Regions from separate parts of the Homo sapiens genome. Here region 2 is linked to region 1. Evidence: promoter capture Hi-C in human tissues and cell types (Jung and others, 2019). All regions are on one chromosome and are shown on one strand. The core of a region is centred on a gene start or on the middle of the fragment in contact, and the rest is flanking DNA. Distances in the headings are between cores, read along the strand shown. Region 1 holds the start of ALAS1 (5'-aminolevulinate synthase 1). Region 2 holds the start of IQCF1 (IQ motif containing F1).

Region 1 (3,073 bases), core at 401-2,900:
GAGTTCAAGACCAGCCTGGCCATCATGGTGAAACCCCATCTCTACTAAAAATACAAAAATTAGCTGGGCGTGGTGGTGTAATCCCAGCTGCTCAGGAGGCTGAGGCAGAAGAATCGCTTGAACCTGGGAGGCAGAGGTTGCAGTGAGCCGAGATTGTGCCACTGCACTCCGGCCTGGGCAACAGAGGGAGACTCTGTCTCAAACAAACAAACAAAATAACAACAACAACAAAAACAACCTGTGAGGCAGGCATTTCAGGGATTATGATCCTATTGCCCAGATAAGGAAAGCAAGGCCCAAAGATGAGCAAAGCACTCAATATCATCCTTATTCTGTTCCCACTTCCAGCTGCACTTGGGTCCAAGTCCAAGTGCTGACCTTTTCTCTCTCATCTTCTCTGGGTGATGGGCACTGCCCAGGATCTCTTGGCTGAATGGCACAGAACTGGGTCTCGAGCTCTCAGACCAAAGCCCTCATCCTGGACTGGTCCCACTGCCACTCTGAACCCAGGTGCCTCCTCTGAAGGTGGAGACTCACCTCACCTGCCTTGCAGCCAGCTGGGTGCTCAGAGACAGAAATGCAAAGTACCTGGACACACCCTGGTCACCATCATTCTGGACTTTGTCCCTCTTGTTAATGCTCAGCTGGGAAAGGAATACCCTCAAAGGCCCTTTCCTCAAGAATGGAGGAGAGTACCTCTGAGCCTGGCACAGGCCCAGCCCAACACAGCCCAAGCCAAGCTGGGAAGGGTGTGGGGCAAGGAAGCCAGACTGACATTCCTGAGACGGGTTTGCCAAGCCCTACACTTTATGTGTTGTACCCGGGAAACTCAATGGAGGTATGGCCCAACGCTGACCTTTGGCATGGAGGCCTAAGCCACCCTGCTGGTGCCCAGGGTGGCCAGCAAGGGGCTTCAGACAACCCTGGATGGAAAATAAAAATAGTGGCTAATATTTGTTACACGCTAACTATTGTCAGGCCCTGTGCCTTCCCCTCCTCCCCAAGTGCTCAGAGCTGTGGAGTGGATGGGTTCCACCCTAGCCCTGTTCCTCTGTCCCCTCTGGATCATCTTAGACCAGAAAGTGCCACAGCTGAGTGTCCCGCTTCTTCCGCATCCTGCCAGGACCACTCCATTTGTGGGCGATATAGCCAGCTCCACCTCCTCCGGGAAGCCCTTGTTCACAGTTTCCAAAGCAAGCCGCAGGCGGGATGGATCCTGCTTAACACCCCGGCCCAGAACCCCTTGGATCTCCTTCTTCCTCCATGTCCAAGACACCCAGCTTAACAACCCTGTAGCCCCCAACTTGGCCCTAGCGGCACCTCGCCTCGACCTTGCCATTTTATACTCAATTGGGGCGTAGGGTTCTGAAGCCCAGGGTAGTTGGTGGGGAGGCAGCACGAGGGTGCAGGATGAGGTCGGGAAAAGAGACCTCGTCCGCCCACCGCCTAGCGCTTCCTCCTCCCTGCAGGCGAGCCGGGGAATCCCCGGCAGCACCGATATCCGCAGAGCCCAAGAAGTGGGCCTCTCTGCCCCGCCCCCCCGGCTCGCCGAGGGCTACGCGGCGCGCCTGCGCAGAAGAAGGCAGCGCCCAAGGCGCATGCGCAGCGGTCACTCCCGCTGTATATTAAGGCGCCGGCGATCGCGGCCTGAGGCTGCTCCCGGACAAGGGCAACGAGCGTTTCGTTTGGACTTCTCGACTTGAGTGCCCGCCTCCTTCGCCGCCGCCTCTGCAGTCCTCAGCGCAGGTGAGGGCCCGCGCGGTAGGTGCGGCGCCGGCCGAGGAAGCCCCGGGGTGTCCTGCCAGCCGTGGCACCGCTGCCCCGGGTGCTGGGACCCCATCCCCCACTGTCCCAGTCACCCGCCGCCTTGAGGTCAGCGTTTATCCTCCAGATCTTTTGCCTAGACGGCCGCCTCAGTTTCCCCCTTTCGGCCCCTTCCGGCTATTCCCGGTTGAACCCGCCGCTTTAGAATTCCCTTCTCATACCCCTCCCGTCATTCTCGAGACCTCGACCGCGGGTCACCTCTGACCCCCACTGCCGGAGGACTGCCTTCTTTCTCCAGACTCAACTCCCTCGACTTTATAAGCCCCTGCGCGTCCCCAGTGAGGCCCAAGGCGCTGGCCCTCATACCCCTACCCTCATTTGTGCCCCTCCTTTCTCAGTTATGCCCAGTTCTTCCCGCTGTGGGGACACGACCACGGAGGAATCCTTGCTTCAGGGACTCGGGACCCTGCTGGACCCCTTCCTCGGGTTTAGGGGATGTGGGGACCAGGAGAAAGTCAGGATCCCTAAGAGTCTTCCCTGCCTGGATGGATGAGTGGCTTCTTCTCCACCTAGATGTAAGCCAAGATGTCTTATCTGCACTGTGCATCTCCCTAAGAAACCTCTGGCCTCCCAAACCTGTTCTTGACCTTTCCCTCATCCTTCCGCCCCCTTGATTATGTACTGTCAGTATTCATTTGGTGAAGTTGCTTTGCAGGTGCCTTTGTGTAGCGCTGGAGAATGAAGAAGTTGGTGACCCGGGTAAAGTGTGGTCACCATTCCTTAGCTCACATCAGTGCTGTCCTTAGGCATTTTTGAGGGAGAAGTGTTAGTATTCCAGGGTACCCTTTATATAAACTGCGGTTGACACCTGAATCCAGTGAGCTTGCAGTGATATTTGCCTGATTATTAACAACTGTTGATGTCACTCTTCATCAGTCTTTCCACAGGAGCCAGCATACTTCCTGAACATGGAGAGTGTTGTTCGCCGCTGCCCATTCTTATCCCGAGTCCCCCAGGCCTTTCTGCAGAAAGCAGGCAAATCTCTGTTGTTCTATGCCCAAAACTGCCCCAAGATGATGGAAGTTGGGGCCAAGCCAGCCCCTCGGGCATTGTCCACTGCAGCAGTACACTACCAACAGATCAAAGAAACCCCTCCGGCCAGTGAGAGTAAGTGTCATTGACAATGAAGGAGCAGGTATGGGTGTTTGTGCTCATTGGTAGACTAGAAGCAGTCCCCACAGTGGTGGTGAGGGTCACACTCACTCACAGAGGGCTGCTATGTGCAGGCTGGGCTCTGAGCACAGATTAT
Region 2 (3,073 bases), core at 261-2,760, 290 kb before region 1:
GTGTTAAAGGAATAGCTGAGCAATTAGGGGCTACTAGCCGGATGGCTTGGGAAAATAGGATAGGCTTAGACATGATAATAGCAGAAAGAGGAGGAGTTTGCCTCATGATTAAAACTCAATGTTGTACCTTCATCCCAAACAACACTGCCCCTGATGGAAGTATAACAAAGGCATTGCAAGGTCTGACTGCCCTGTCCAATGAGTTAGCCAACAACTCAGGGTTAAATGAGCCCTTTACAGGATGGCTAGAAAAGTGGTTCAGTAAATGGAAAAGAATTATAGCCTCAATTCTCACTTCCCTGGCAGCCGCAATGGGTGTATTTATTCTTGTTGGGTGCTGTGTCACACCATGCGTCCGTGGGTTGGTGCAAAGAGGCTCATAAAAACAGCACTTACTAAAACCTCCCTTAACTATTCTCCACCTTATCCAGAGAAGCTTCTTCTTTTGGAAAATCAAGCAGAACATCTAAGCCAAGACATGTTAAAGAAGTTTAAAGAGAAAGAGCTGTAAGGAAATGCAAGAGGAGAAGTTGTTAGGTATGAGTTCTAAATTTCTCTTCAAAGAATCAGTATGTCAATATGTTCAATTCTTTGCCTTCTACTTTTAAACTTAACTTCCTTGTAAAGCAACCTTTTTCAATTACCTGCTCCGCCCTGACTCATTCTGATTACCTACTCCCCCCTGACTCATTCCGATTACCGGCTCCACCCTGACTCATTCCAATTACCTGCTCAGTCTCCACCCTGACTCATTCCGATTTCCTGCTCCGCGGTAACCATTTTTCCCACCAAACCACTCACCCCATCACTCTCTTTAAATTAGCCAATCAGAATTAGTTTAGCCTGTGTGGTCTAACCCTAGCCAATAGGGGAATGACACAGCAGCAGGGGCCACGTGCATCAGGGATAAGAACCCCTTCCCCTCCCTTGTCCAAGTGTGCACTCACCATTGCTCCATCTGTAAGGGCGCACCCTTCTATAGAAGTACCTTGCCTTGCTGAGAATTAAAAAGAAAATTTTATATTTGAGTGCTATTTCTTTTGCGGCACAGAAACTTCACTTATAACAGCACCATGCAAAAGACACTAGCTACTAGCACTAGGACATGGGATCAATGACATCCAAGTCAGGGCTCCTCCTACCTCTGCCTTTGACTCTGCTCCTAAGGACAAATGGGTTGGCATCTCCTTCTGCTGAGGCTCATCTTCTTTTGAGGGTTCCTTCGTCTTTTGGGGCTGCTTCTCCTCCTGCAATCAGCATTAGGGGAAAGGCAAGAGTGAGGCTGCGGTCCCTCCCTCTCCATTCAATATGGCACACATCCCCAGCTTCCAGGGCTTCTTAGAGTCTTCAGTGTCAGGGGGTCCCTTCACCCTGAGAGATCTATGGGGACATCCCTAACAAGCCTGGTGTGTCTGGCTTTCTCTTACCATTGGTCACATATGGATTGATTGTAGATGGTTCAAATCCCCTCACATCTGTGTTCATCCAGCCATAGCATAGGCAGGAAGGGTGGAGGAAGAAAGGCCTGTGATGTCATAAGGGCACCTGTGACTCAGGCACCAGATGGCTCCTAACAAGTGAGCCCCCTCCAAGGGAAAGACAAAAGCGCTGCCCATTCTTTTCTGCCAGAAATGGCCAAAGCCCTGACTTCAAAGGCAAGATGCCAGAAATACTGGCCCATTGCTGTAAGGTTTATAAAAAGCCAGTCATTTCTAATAACATTTAATTGAAAAAACTTGGCCAGGCGCAGTGGCTCAGGCCTGTAATCCCAGCACTTTGGGAGGCCGAGGCAGGCAGATCAACTGAGGTCAGGAGTTCGAGACCAGCCTGGCCAACATGGCAAAACCTTGTCCCTACTAAAATTACAAAAATTAGCTGGGTGTGGTGGCTGTCACCTGTAATCCCAGCTACTCAGGAGGCTGAGACAGGAGAATCGCTTGCACCCAGGAGGTGGAGTTTGCAGTGAGCCAGGATCATGCCACTGCACTCCAGGCTGGGCAAGAGAGCAAGACTCCATCTCAAAAAAAAAAAAAAAAGAAAAGAAAAAACTTATATAGCCAACTTAAATAATCAATAGGGGATTAATTTAATGATGCATAGTTCATTCATACTATAAAATACTACATAACTATTAAAAATAAGAATTTGATCTATATTACTAATGAGGAAATATATAAAGATGTATTTATAAGTAAAAAACTAAAGTTCCTTTTGATCCCACTATGCAAACAAAACTAGGAACATAATTATACACATAAAATTGAATAATTTATGCCAGAAGTTATTACATGATACACATTATATGTTGTAAATGAATATAAAGAAGAAAAAAGGTATATATACCAAACTATTACCAATGATTACCTTTGGAGAGGAGAGTTAAATTGCTGACTCATGCCTAACACAGTCCCCAAGGAACCCCATGAGGGCCTGAGGACCAGCCTGGACTCCATCTGAGGCTCAAATGGGTCCAAGTGCTCTCCTGTCTTCCTCTGTCCCTGGGGTCTCAAGGCCACAATCAGATGGATGAAGGTGGCCACTGCACAAGCATGGCCCCTTTCTGCCTGATCTCGGCCTCTGAAGACCCAGCTGGACAGGGTAAGGCCATGAGAGGCACAGCCCCTGGGGTCACTGAGAAGTGCACTTGAAATGTATAGGGTGAGTATGGGAGAGGCCAATGTGGATCTGTAGGGGGAATGTAGGGAAGAGGAGGAGGCCATTTGAGGCTGGGATGTGAAGTTAATGGGATGAGGGGGTGGAGAATATGGGAATACATTGAAAGATGTGGGAAGTTGTGGGTGTGATATAGTTTGGCTCTGTGTCCCCACCCAAATCTCATCTTGAATTTTAACTCCCGCAATTCCCATGTGTTGTGGAAGGAACCTGGTGGGAGGTGACTGAATTATGGGGGCAGGTCTTTCCTGTGCTGTTCTCATGATAGTGAATGAATCTCAAGAGATTTGATGGTTTTAAAAATGGGAGTTTGGGCTGGGTGCAGTGGCTCATGCCTGTAATCCTAGAACTTTGGGAGGCTGAGGCGGGAGGATCATGAGGTCAGGAGATCAAGACCATC

Evidence for each region. Contacts are between HindIII fragments. The study calls those that stand out against the background at their distance.
Region 2: a contact is called between the fragment with the promoter of IQCF1 here and the fragment with the promoter of ALAS1 in region 1, in 1 of the 25 tissues and cell types used here (adrenal gland).

The regions. Positions count from the first base shown.
Region 1 is chr3:52,196,510-52,199,582 of GRCh38, forward strand. ALAS1 (5'-aminolevulinate synthase 1) reads left to right here and starts at 1,651. Exons shown (of 12, transcript NM_000688.6): 1 at 1,651-1,746; 2 at 2,163-2,339; 3 at 2,701-2,931. The coding sequence starts at 2,733. RefSeq lists enhancers at 1,193-1,262, 1,273-1,492 and silencers at 1,633-1,702, 1,813-1,892. The HindIII fragment of the contact is 15,330 bases long and covers 1-3,073 here.
Region 2 is chr3:51,901,843-51,904,915 of GRCh38, forward strand. IQCF1 (IQ motif containing F1) reads right to left here and starts at 1,511. Exons shown (of 4, transcript NM_152397.3): 1 at 1,428-1,511; 2 at 1,143-1,247. The coding sequence starts at 1,430. RefSeq lists an enhancer at 69-1,268. The HindIII fragment of the contact is 7,615 bases long and covers 1-3,073 here.